Regions from separate parts of the Homo sapiens genome. Here regions 1, 2 and 3 are each linked to region 4. Evidence: promoter capture Hi-C in 16 types of primary human blood cells and fetal thymus (Javierre and others, 2016). All regions are on one chromosome and are shown on one strand. Each heading gives the region's core, a stretch centred on a gene start or on the middle of the fragment in contact. The rest is flanking DNA. Distances are from core to core; before and after follow the strand shown.

Region 1 (2,780 bases), core at 205-2,704, 210 kb before region 4:
CTTGAAACAAAATTGCCAATTTTGTCTTTACTAGGGCCGGTGGGAAAGTCAGCAGGATGTATCCCAAACCACAGTTTCCAGAGGAATAGCTCCTGCCCCCGCCCTCTCTGTTTCTCCCCAAAATAACCATTCTCCAGATCCAGGTAAGTTATCTTTTCACTTGTCAATTACTGTCAGAAATCTGAGCATCTTTCAGAAAGTTTAAATTAGAATTTCCTGCCAGGCAGCCACTGTTCTGCTAGATAATGTCCATCGAGTTGTTTCATTTCTCCTCTTAACAGGTTGAGTTCCATTGGCTCTGGAATGTTGGATTGATCTTGCATTGCTCTGATATATACCGCCTGATCATGATGTGTTAGCCGTACATTGCTGGAATCTCTTTGCACCTCTTTTTTAAGGACTTTTGTGTATGTGCTCTATAGTAAATATCTGTAATGTTTTATCTTCTCATCTTCATGTCTTTGTTAGGTTTTGTTATGATTGCATTGGCTTCATAAAACGACTTGGGAAATGTTTCTCCTCATTTTTTTTTTCTGGGAGAGTTTATGTAAGATTAGTATTACCTCTTCCTTAAATGTTTCATGAAATTCCGTAGTTACATGATCCGGGCCTGGAATCCTCTTTGTGGGGAGATTTTAAATTATGACTTGAGTTTCTTTTTTTTTTTTTTTTTGAGACAGAGTCTTGCTCTGTCACCCAGGCTGGAGTCCAGTAGTGCAATCTCGGCTCACTGCAACCTGCCCCTCCCAGGTTCAAGTGATTCTCCTGCCTCAGCCCCCCAAGTAGCTGGGATTACAGGCGCCCACCACCACGCCTGGCTAATTTTTGCATTTTTAGTAGAGATGGGGTTTCACCACGTTGGCCAGGCTGGTCTCAAACTCCTGATCTTAGGTGATCTGTCTGCCTCAGCCTCCCAAAGTGCTGGGATTACAGGCGTGAGCTACTGCACCCGGCAAGTTTATTTAGTATGGGAATATTTAGATCTTTGTGTCTCCTTTTGAGTCACCTATCATAGGTTATATTTTTTTCAAGGAGTTTCTTAGTTTATCTAGATTATTAAGTTTATTTTCATAAACATCACTTACTTTTTTTTTTTTTTTTTTTTGAGATGGAGTCTGACTCTGTCGCCCAGGCTGGAGTGCAGTGGTGCGATCTCGGCTCACTGCAACCTTTGCCTCCTGGGTTCAAGTGATTCTCCTGCTTCAGCCTCCTAAGTAGCTGGGACTGCAGGCACGTGCCACCATGCCAAGCTAATTTTTTGTATTTTTAGTAGAGACGGAGTTTCACCATGTTAGCCAGGTTGGTCTCTATCTCCTGACCTTGTGATCTGCCGGCCTTGGCCTCCCAAAGTGCTGGGATTACAGGCATGAGCCATCGCACCTGGCCACTTTACCTTATTTTTTAAATACTTATAGGATCTCTTGTGATGTTCCTTCTTTTTATTCTGATACTGATAATTTGTATTATCTGTTTTGAATACTTTTCTGACAGGTTTATCATATATATTAATCTCAGAACCAGTTTTTGGCTTTTTCTATTGCAATTGATTTTTTAAATTTTTCTGCATTTCACATATTTTGGTATGTTGTGCTTTCATTTTCATTCTATTCAGAGTATTTTAAAATTTCCCTCTGATTGCTTCTTTGATCCATGACTTATCAACTAGCATTAATTCTTTTTTATTTTTGGGGGTAATCTGTATTCCAGATTGTGTTCTATCTTGGTTAATATTCTATGTGCACTATTGTGTTTGGGGACATGATGTTCTATGTATATCTAATTAGGTCACTGTGGTTTATTGCCTTGTTCAAATCCTCTGGATCTTTGCTGATTTGGTGGAGGCCTATTCCATCAGTTCTTGAGAGGGCATTAGATATCCAAATATAATTGTGAAAATTATATGTGTTTCCCTTTATACCAGTTTTTACTTCATTCATTTAGAAGCTCTGATAATTAGCTTCTAATTATTTAAGATTGTTATATCTTCCTGATATAACACATTTAAGATTGTTATATCTTCCTGATAGAGTGGCCTATCATGAAATGTCCCTTTTGTCTCTGGGAATACTCTTACCTTGAAATCTCTCTTACCTATCATTTATATATAACTGCATCAAATTTATTTACTGTTTGCACGATGTATCTTTTTCTTGGCTTTTAAAATTTTAGCCTGTGTTTGTCTTTAAATTAAAAGCGATTGCCTTGTAGACAACATTTGGTTGGGTCCAGTTATTTCCCCCTGAATCTCATCTCGTAGTTCCTGCCCTTCAATCGGCATGCTTCACGAACCCTTCCATTGCCTCCCATTCTGGTCCGCCATATTTTTATTGGTTTTCTGCTTGGCCATTCTGTTTTTTGTTTCACTGTAACTCCTTATTTACCTTCTTTTGGGTTAATAAACAAAAATTAGTATCTCATTTTATTTCCTCTTTTTGCTTTTTTGGACACCTGTATTTGTTTGCTAAAGTCTTTGCTCAGAAACCCTACTTGGCATCCTTAACTTATCAAATCGCTTAGAGTTCATATGACGTCACCCCTCACCTCACAAATACAGGAACCATGCAACAGTGTAAGTCATTGACCTGTTCCTCTGGGCCCCTCATTTTGTACTGTTGTTTCATCTTCTACATATATAGGTATTCAAACCTCACTTTATGACGTTATTCTTTTTGCTTTAAAATAGCCACCTGTAGGCCGGGTGCGGTAGCTCCCACCTGTAGCCCTAGCACTTTGGGAGGCCTAGGTGTGGGTTAGTTGAGACCAGCCTGGGCAACATGGCA
Region 2 (2,700 bases), core at 179-2,678, 190 kb before region 4:
TCCCATCTCAGCCTCCCAAGTAGCTGAGACTACAGGTGTACACCGCCATGGCTGGCTAATTTTTAAATTTTGATCTTGTAGAGACGGGGTCTCCCTATGTCACACCGGCTGGTCTTGAATTGCTGTGCTCAAGCAATCCTCCTGCCTCAGCCTCCGGAAGTGCTGGGATTATGTGTGTGAACCACTCTGCCCAACAAGACCCTATTTTTAAAGTTTTCAGATTAGCAAACATTCTTTAAGCATCCTTAATCCTTCATGGACACTTGAAAAACTAGTAACTCTTTTTGGATGAAGTGAGCATTCTATCTTTTAAAATATATGTGTAGAATTTTCTTATATGAACGCTTAAATCAGTTTTAAGTATTATGTAGAAGTTTTATTTTTTTTTAATTTATTTTTTCTGACAAGGTCTTGCTCTGTTGCCCAGGCTGGAGTGCAGTGATGTGATCATAGCTCACTGCAGCTTCGAACTCCTGGGCGCAAGTCCTCCTGTCTCAGCCTCTCGAGTAGCTGGGACCACAGGAGTGTGCTACCATGCCTGGCTAATTAAAAACTTTTTTTTTGTAAAAATGAGGCCTTGGTATGTTGCCCAGGCTGTTATGTGGAAGTTTGTAAAGTAAACTGGCTAGATACTAAAAATCAGAAGCGATATCTTTTCCAGTAACTCTGGAAATACTAGTATTTAAGATTTTATTTATATAGTACTTAGAATAAGTTAGACTATAATACATATCTAATGTCTTATAGACCATGTGAATGGTGTCATTCACTTATAGGCAGTGATAAAATAATTTACTTGTTGATAGGAAAAATAGGCCTTTTAATTGTTTTGTGTAACTGAAATTAAATAGGAATATAAATGTTAGACCTTGAGTGCCTAGTTTTGAGGAGCACAGGGACTAGTTTTGCTCACACTGCACCCCCAGTGCCTACCACAGTCTTTAGAATGTAGTAGGTACCTGGTACATATTTGCGAATGAGTAAATAAATGAAATCTTAGGTTCTTTGTTTGAAAGAAAGTGGAATTCATCTTGGAATGACTTTGGGACTGATTCAGTTAATTTGAAACTTGTGATTTCTAGATCAGATGAAATTATTGACTGTTTAAACATGTACTTTTAGTAAGCCAACTTAGAAATATCCAGGAAGACCAGACACAAAATTCCAATGAAGTACTTTACAAATGTGTCGAGAGCTTCCAGCATACCTGGCACCACACCAGGAATTTTAATGTGCCATCTCAACAACACGACTGAGTTAGACAAGCACCATGCAATAGATACATAATGCGAGCCATGTATGCAAGTTACAATTTCCTAGTAGCCACGTTTAAGGAAGTAAAAAGAATACAGGTCAGATTAATTTTAATAACATTTGTTTAACCTAGTGTATTGAAAATACTGTCATATCAACTGTAGTATAAAAAAAGGTTGAGATATTCCCATCCTTCTTTCTGTACAAAGTCCTTGAAATCAGGTGTGTATTTTACATTTCTAGCACATTGCAATTCAGACACTAAAGTTCCGTCGGAAATACTTGATCTGCATTTAGAATTCATAAAATTTATGGTTGAAAAAGCAGACCCACATGCCGAGGCTGTTCTAAACATACTTAAAAGCATTTCAGTGTTTAAGGTTATGCTTTATTAATTAAAATAAAAAATGGACTTTCTGAGTCACATTAGCCTCATTCTCAGTGCTGGGTCACCACCAGTGGCTGGTGGCTGCCATGTCAGGGCTGCTGCCCTGTTGGGGAAATGGGGAGGGTGCACACCTGTCTCAGGTTACAGAGCCTCAGGAGTGGCAGAACTGAGCTTTCCGTTGAGAAAGCACGGTTAAATGCTCACGTGTGACTGTAAGAGATTTCACTGACAGTGATTAAGAGTAACCAAGTCATTGTATTTGTGGAATGAATCAATCAGTAGAGCGTTTGCAGGAGGGACGGATCGAGCCGCAGAAATACACCATGCAGGACCTGCCAGCGTTTCCCTGTCTGCTGCAGTGGGAAACCCTGGCAGCTGCAAGGTGGCGAGCGACATGGGACATGGTCACTTTTGTTTTTCGGAAAGCTCCCTCCAGCTGTAGTTTGGAAAGTGGATTTGAAGAGAATGGAGTTAGAAGACGCTATTCGAGTGCGGGTAGAATCCTCAGCAGGGATTATCATGTGGGTCAGAAACCCATGGTTGCCTTCTGGTGTTGAGTCCTTCGAGGCACTGCTTGGAGGGGCATGTGGCAGGCAGGGGCACAGTGGCTCGGGCGGGGGTCGGCAGCCACCAGTCCGCTTCCCTGGTGACACCGCTTAGAGAACTCATGTAGATGGGATCATCCCCTTGCAGATAGGTGTGGAAGCCCAGAGGTGATCAGGTTTTTACACAAAAGTTAGAATGCCAAGCCATGCATTTAAAATAACTATACCTGCCAGATGGACAAAAGTGCTGGTGCCGTTATGGCTCACATATTCTATCCACATCACCCTGTCAGGGTCTGGAGCCTCCAGGCGCACAGGGTGGTCACTGAAGGCCTCACATGCCGGAGGCTGGTTCACAGGCTTCAGGCCAGGGCTGGACACGTTCTCCCCGCCCGCCTCCCGGAACTCTTCGTTTTCCTCTCTTCCAGGCCCCTGGTCAGGACAACCTTAGAAAAGTGTTTCTATTGATTAGATTATTGCTGAGGCTTAATGTTTGGGTTGGTTTTTTTTTTT
Region 3 (2,700 bases), core at 67-2,566, 130 kb before region 4:
TAAGTGAATCAAGAAGGTAACACTGAATTCACTGATCAATCTTATGGTTACTAAAATTGGGGCTGTAGCGGTGGATCACACCTATAATCCCAGGACTGTAGGAGACTGAGGCAGGTGGATCTCTTGAGCCCAGGAGTTCAATACCAGCCTAGGCAACATGGCAAAACTCTGTCTCTACAAAAATATAAAAATTAGCCAGGCATGGTGGCACATGCCTGTAGTCCCAGCTACTCAGGAGGCTGAGATGGGAGAAAGACCTGAGCCCAGGAGGTTGAGGCTGTGGTGAGCTATGATCATGCCACTGAACTCCAGCCTGGGCAACAGAGCAAGACCCTGTCTCAAAAAGGGAAGGGAGCTGATAAACATGTTCTAAAATTGACTGAGGTTATGGTTGCATAATTCTGTGAATATACTAAAAAGCATTAAATTGTACACTTTAAATAGATGAATTGTATCTCATTAAGGCTGTTTTTTTTAAATCAAGATAAATTTCTATCTCTATGCAAACATACAGAAGACTACAGTATTTTATTTAAATCTTTTGATTTTATATTTCTCTTTTCCTTTGCACTGACAATCTTGGTTCCTAATAACTCTAATATGACTATTTGTTTTATCTGTACCTACATCTATATCTATACCTATCTAGCTATGTAAATAAAAATAGTACCTGAATAGCAGTATCTATAATACCAAATTTAGTAGAAACAGTGTAAGATTTTTTTGGTGTTTCTTTTTATTCTTAAGCTGTTTCCCACTTGGGAAGTATAGGAAATTACTGTGTTATAAACACATTTGAGATAATTCTTGGGTGTTTAAGGCACTATTTTGATATACAGGTTTAATTTTAGTTATTTTTTAAAGGTCACCTCCCCCCCTCCCCCCCATTTTTTCCCTGATTTTAAATTTTGATATATAATTACGTAATTTAGTTACAGGTCAAAACAAAGTATTTTCCGAGAAATCTAGCTTCTACCTCTCTTCTAAGTTGTTTCTCTTTTATTGATAACCATTTATTTTATGGTTTATTCCTCCATTTTAAAATAAGTTATAAGCAAATACATAAATGACAGCTTTGTATTATATACAGTTGATTCTGCCTTGTTTTAAACTTAATGTTATATCCTGGAGATCACTGTATACAGAGTTTTTTGTTCTTTAGCTGCATAGTACTCCACTACATGGGTTTCAACATCCAATACATGGATGTGCTATAATTTATTGACATAGTTACTACAAATAGACATTTAGGTCATCTTCTGTATTTTGAAATTAGTAAAAACAGTGCTGTTATCTTTTCATATTTTTGCCAGTATATCTTTAAGATTCTTCTTTTTCTTCTTGAGATAGGGTCTTTCTCTGTCACCCAGACTGAAGTGCAGTAGTGTGATCATAGCTCACTGCAGCTTCAAACTCCTGGGCTCAAGCAATCCTCCTGCCTCAGCCTCCCGAGTGGCTGGGACTACAGGCATGCCCTACCACGCCTTGCTAATTTTTTGTATTTTTTATAGAGATGGGGTCTCACTATGTTGCCTAGGCTAGTCTCAAACTCCTGGCCTCAAGTGGTTCTTTCACCTCAGCCCTCCCAAAAGGTTGGGATTTACAGGTGTGACCCACTGGCCCTAAGATAATTTTCTAGAAGTAGGAATGTCAAGTCAAAGGGTAAACTCATAGGTAATTTTCCTTGATATTGCCGAATTCCCTTCCATTAAGTTGTTTCATTTTGCATTTCTACAAGTAACGTATGAGAGTGTCTGTTTCTCTACAGCCCAATCAATATAAAATGTTGCCAAACTTTTGGATTTTTGTCAATGTAATAAGTGAAGAATAGTATCTCAATGTAGTTTTAATTTGAATTTCTCTTACTATCAATTAGATTGAGCATTTTTTTTTTTTTTTTTGAGACGGAGTCTCGCTCTGTCACCCAGGCTCGAGTGCAGTGGCACGATCTCGGCTCACCGCAAGCTCTGCCTCCTGGGTTCATGCCATTCTCCTGCCTCAGCCTCCCGAGTAGCTGGGACTACAGGTGCCCGCCACCACGCCCGGCTAATTTTTTTTTTTCTATTTTTCGTAGAGACAGGGTTTCACTGTGTTAGCCAGGATGCTCTCGATCTCCTGGCCTCGTGATCCGCCCGCCTCGGCCTCCCAAAGTGCTGGGATTACAGACATGAGCCACCGCGCCTGGCCGATTGAGCATATTTTCATATGTTCAAGGACCATTTGCATTTTTTCTCCTATCTTTAGCCCAATAAAGATAGAGTTATTGGTCTTTTAAGAGCTCTTTATTAGGGATAATAAAAGTTGCAATTTTTTTTTCCAATTTGTCTTTTACTTTGCTCAGCTTTTACTCCCTCCAAAGTTTTTCTTTTAATTTATGTAATCATATTTATCAATCTTTTCCTTTATTGTTTTTAGATTTTGGGTCATGGTTAGGAAATATTTTTCCCATTGCCAGGATATGAAGGGACCACTCATGTTTTCTTCTATTATTTATATGGATTCACTTCTTTGACTCATTTGAAATTTATCTTGATGTATGAAGAATGGAATAATTTTTTACTTTTTTAAAATTTCATTTTAATTTTTGAGATAGGATCTTACTATGTCGCCCAGGTTGGGGTGCAGTGGTGCAATCATAGCTCACTGTAACCTCAAACTCCTGGGCTCAAGCAATCCTCTCATGTCAGCCTCCTGAGTAGC
Region 4 (2,714 bases), core at 165-2,664:
CCCACCTATCTACCGACTTGAGGATGCAAAAAATCCATCTCCACATCACACCATCTCTACAGTTCTCGTGGCTGGAGTTTGGGGTGGAGATTCGTCCAGGGGAGGGGGCGGAGGCGAGTGGCAGAGTGTGAGCGGGCGACGGGACACAAGCGAGTTGTTGAGCCCGGCCGCCTCGCACCACGTCGCCAGCCCAAACGCCCAGCACCAGGACCTCACGCCCGCCCCTCAGCCCAGGCCCAGAGCGAGCGAGGACTCGCGCTGTCTAACTTCCCATCTACAGACACCGCTCCAAGACGAGCAGAGCACACAAGTACACGTCACACAGTTTAAACACACTTACACACCCCAAACAAACCAACACACCTGCAAATCACCTCACAGTTTCCAGAACTCCACACCGGAGACCCCACCTCCAGGATTCAAACCTTCCGCTCATCGTAGAGGAAACCAGAAGAGTTGGGGGGCAGTCGACGCCTTTCCAGGACCGGACCCCACGAACTGCCCCACCCCACAGCCCGCGTCTGGGTCACCCACTCGGAAGCCCCCTGCTTCCTCCCTCCTCTCAATCCGGCCGCTTACGAGACCCATCCCCAGCGTCCGCTCACTTCCTCCCCAAAACCCCTCCAAAAAAATTGTTTTAAGTGAAGAGAAAGAAGTGAGGAAAGAGACTTGAGGTAGTCCGGCTTCAAAACCGCTCGACTCACCTCAGAATCCTCGCTGAGTTCTCTCCGCCCGGCACAGCCCCCTCCCCAACGTCCCAGTACGAAGGGCTGAGATAGGGAGGAGGGAAGGCGGGAGGGGGAGGGGTGTCTTCCGCGTGGGGCGCCCGTCGGGAGGGGACTGGGGAGGGGTTGAGGCCGGCGCAGGAAGAGGAGAAGGGGGAGGGGAGGCCCCTATCTCCCAGTCTCCCCCTGAAAAACCTCCCTTGTCTCAATCACATCAGACTGACTGTCTTTGTCTGGCTGACAACCGCCATATTGATATCAACAGCCCCTCTCCCACCTGCTGCCGCCGGGCGTCCCTGGGAGTTGTAGTTCCTGCCTCCCCTGAGAAAAATTGCGGAGCCCGGCGCCTAGAGGGCCAAGGGAACTACAACTTCCGGCAAGCCCCGTGCCCATCCGCCTTCCCTTTGGGAGGAGGGAAAGGGGAGTCGGAGCCGTCGGGACTACACATCCCAGAACACCATGGGCCCCAGGCCCGTAAGGAAGACATGATATCATGCTGGGGTGGAGAGGGAGGATGCATTGGCGGCTGGGATGAATTTGAGCTGACGGAAGGAGGCGTTCGGAGAGGAAAGGGAGGAAAAGGAAAGGCGACCACAGTTCCCATGATGCCTGGAGGGGAGACTACATTTCCCATTATTCCCCTGGAAGGGACGTGAGGATGAAAGACTGCAAGTCCCGCGATGCTCTCGGCTGGCAGGTGGCGGAGATTGCACCGGAAGACGCTTCCTGGGTTTGAGGAGTTCAGTGACTGCTATTGAACCACCAAAAGTCCATTATGAAACTGGTGAGTCTTCGCTCCTAGGTCAGAGGGCAAAGGTGATGCTATAACCTTTTGGACCTCTTTTTTTCCTACGTTGGGCAGGGAATCGTCGCACGGGAGGGGTAGCAATTATTGAGCTGGAAAGTGGAGTGGGCTAAGGAAAGCTGCTTTTTGTTGTTGAGAAGGTTTGAATTCCCTCTCCCCCACCCCATCCCTCCCAGGAGGTCTTTTTTCACTCGTTAGTGGGTCTTTTTGTTCAGACAAGAGGTTGACTGTCACAGTCCTTCGCCCATGAACTCTGTGGGCTCTGTTAACCAGGTTTGGACGTCCTGGTTCCCACGTGAGGGTTATAATAGGCTGTTAACAATCCGTTTCCATTCGATTGGCGCTTGAGTATCCTGTCTCCCTACTGTTGTTGAGACTGGCTAGATTTAAGCAGACAGTAAAAAACATCCAGCAGAACGTAATCACTTATTAAATATCCTGTTATATAGACTCCTCACTGCCCTTGGAATTCAGGACGAGGTCAGAGTGTGGAGAAGTTGAGTCTTAAACCCTGCATGGGATTTAGATGGGCAGAGAAGTGTTATATGGTATTCCATTCTAAGACTGTAGGGACTTCATGAGCCAAGGCTGAATGAAGCGTGCTCGGTATACCTGAAGTCTTAACATCACACAGCTCAAGCACCTGGTTCATGGAGGCTCCTCAGACCTTTGATTTGAGCCATTTGACTCATTGTGCACACAAGTCTAACTAGTTTATTCCAACTCGATTCAATTAGTTAATAACATAGTGTAGAAAGGCAGGTGTGAAACACTGTTTCTCAACCTTTTAAAACCCATATTTGTGCAGCCAAGTTATTGTCAAGCTTTACTTGAGGCAGGAGAATCGCTTGAACCCGGGAGGCAGAGGTTGCAGTAAGCCAAGATCGCGCCACTGCACTCCAGCCTTGCAACAGCGCGAGACTCTGTCTCAAAAAAAAAAAAAGTTTATTTTTTACCATTTATATAATTATCTGAACATGCTTTGCCAAACCACACAACACACCTACCCTCATCTTGATAATCATTGTGCTACAGGCATATATTCTGCAAAGCCAGCTGTTTTCTGCGAAGTCAGAGAAAGTATTAAAAGTGGATTCAATTCCGAAATTGTCCCCGTATAAATCTGTTTATATAAGGGGAAGGATGCGGGTCACTAAACCTTGAGAATAGCAACTTACCCCTGG

Evidence for each region. Contacts are between HindIII fragments. The CHiCAGO score rates a contact against its expected background, and 5 or more counts as called.
Region 1: a contact is called between a fragment that was not itself captured here and the fragment with the promoter of INTS9 in region 4, in 2 of 17 cell types (total B cells and naive B cells). The highest score is 8.2, in total B cells.
Region 2: a fragment that was not itself captured here is called in contact with the fragment with the promoter of INTS9 in region 4 in 1 of 17 cell types (total B cells); the score reaches 6.4 in total B cells.
Region 3: a fragment that was not itself captured here is called in contact with the fragment with the promoter of INTS9 in region 4 in 4 of 17 cell types (naive B cells, total B cells, endothelial precursors and 1 more); the score reaches 7.1 in naive B cells.

What each region holds. Positions count from the first base shown.
Region 1 is chr8:29,096,496-29,099,275 of GRCh38, reverse strand. It overlaps KIF13B (kinesin family member 13B), which reads left to right. Exons shown (of 40, transcript NM_015254.4): 36 at 35-143. Among named protein-coding and RNA genes, the nearest start is that of KIF13B, 170 kb to the left of the region's middle. The HindIII fragment of the contact is 3,073 bases long and covers 1-2,780 here.
Region 2 is chr8:29,080,339-29,083,038 of GRCh38, reverse strand. All of the region lies in intron 37 of KIF13B (kinesin family member 13B), which reads left to right. Among named protein-coding and RNA genes, the nearest start is that of KIF13B, 180 kb to the left of the region's middle. RefSeq lists an enhancer at 2,351-2,700. The HindIII fragment of the contact is 7,261 bases long and covers 1-2,700 here.
Region 3 is chr8:29,021,061-29,023,760 of GRCh38, reverse strand. The region is part of intron 6 of HMBOX1 (homeobox containing 1); the gene reads right to left. All of the region lies in intron 2 of LOC105379346 (a long non-coding RNA gene), which reads left to right. Among named protein-coding and RNA genes, the nearest start is that of HMBOX1, 130 kb to the right of the region's middle. The HindIII fragment of the contact is 6,270 bases long and covers 1-2,700 here.
Region 4 is chr8:28,888,669-28,891,382 of GRCh38, reverse strand. It overlaps INTS9 (integrator complex subunit 9), which reads left to right and starts at 1,414. Exons shown (of 17, transcript NM_018250.4): 1 at 1,414-1,509. The coding sequence starts at 1,501. It overlaps HMBOX1 (homeobox containing 1), which reads right to left and starts at 988. Exons shown (of 10, transcript NM_001135726.3): 1 at 705-988. RefSeq lists a silencer at 746-865 and enhancers at 518-1,074, 1,236-1,435, 1,075-1,631. The HindIII fragment of the contact is 2,854 bases long and covers 1-2,356 here.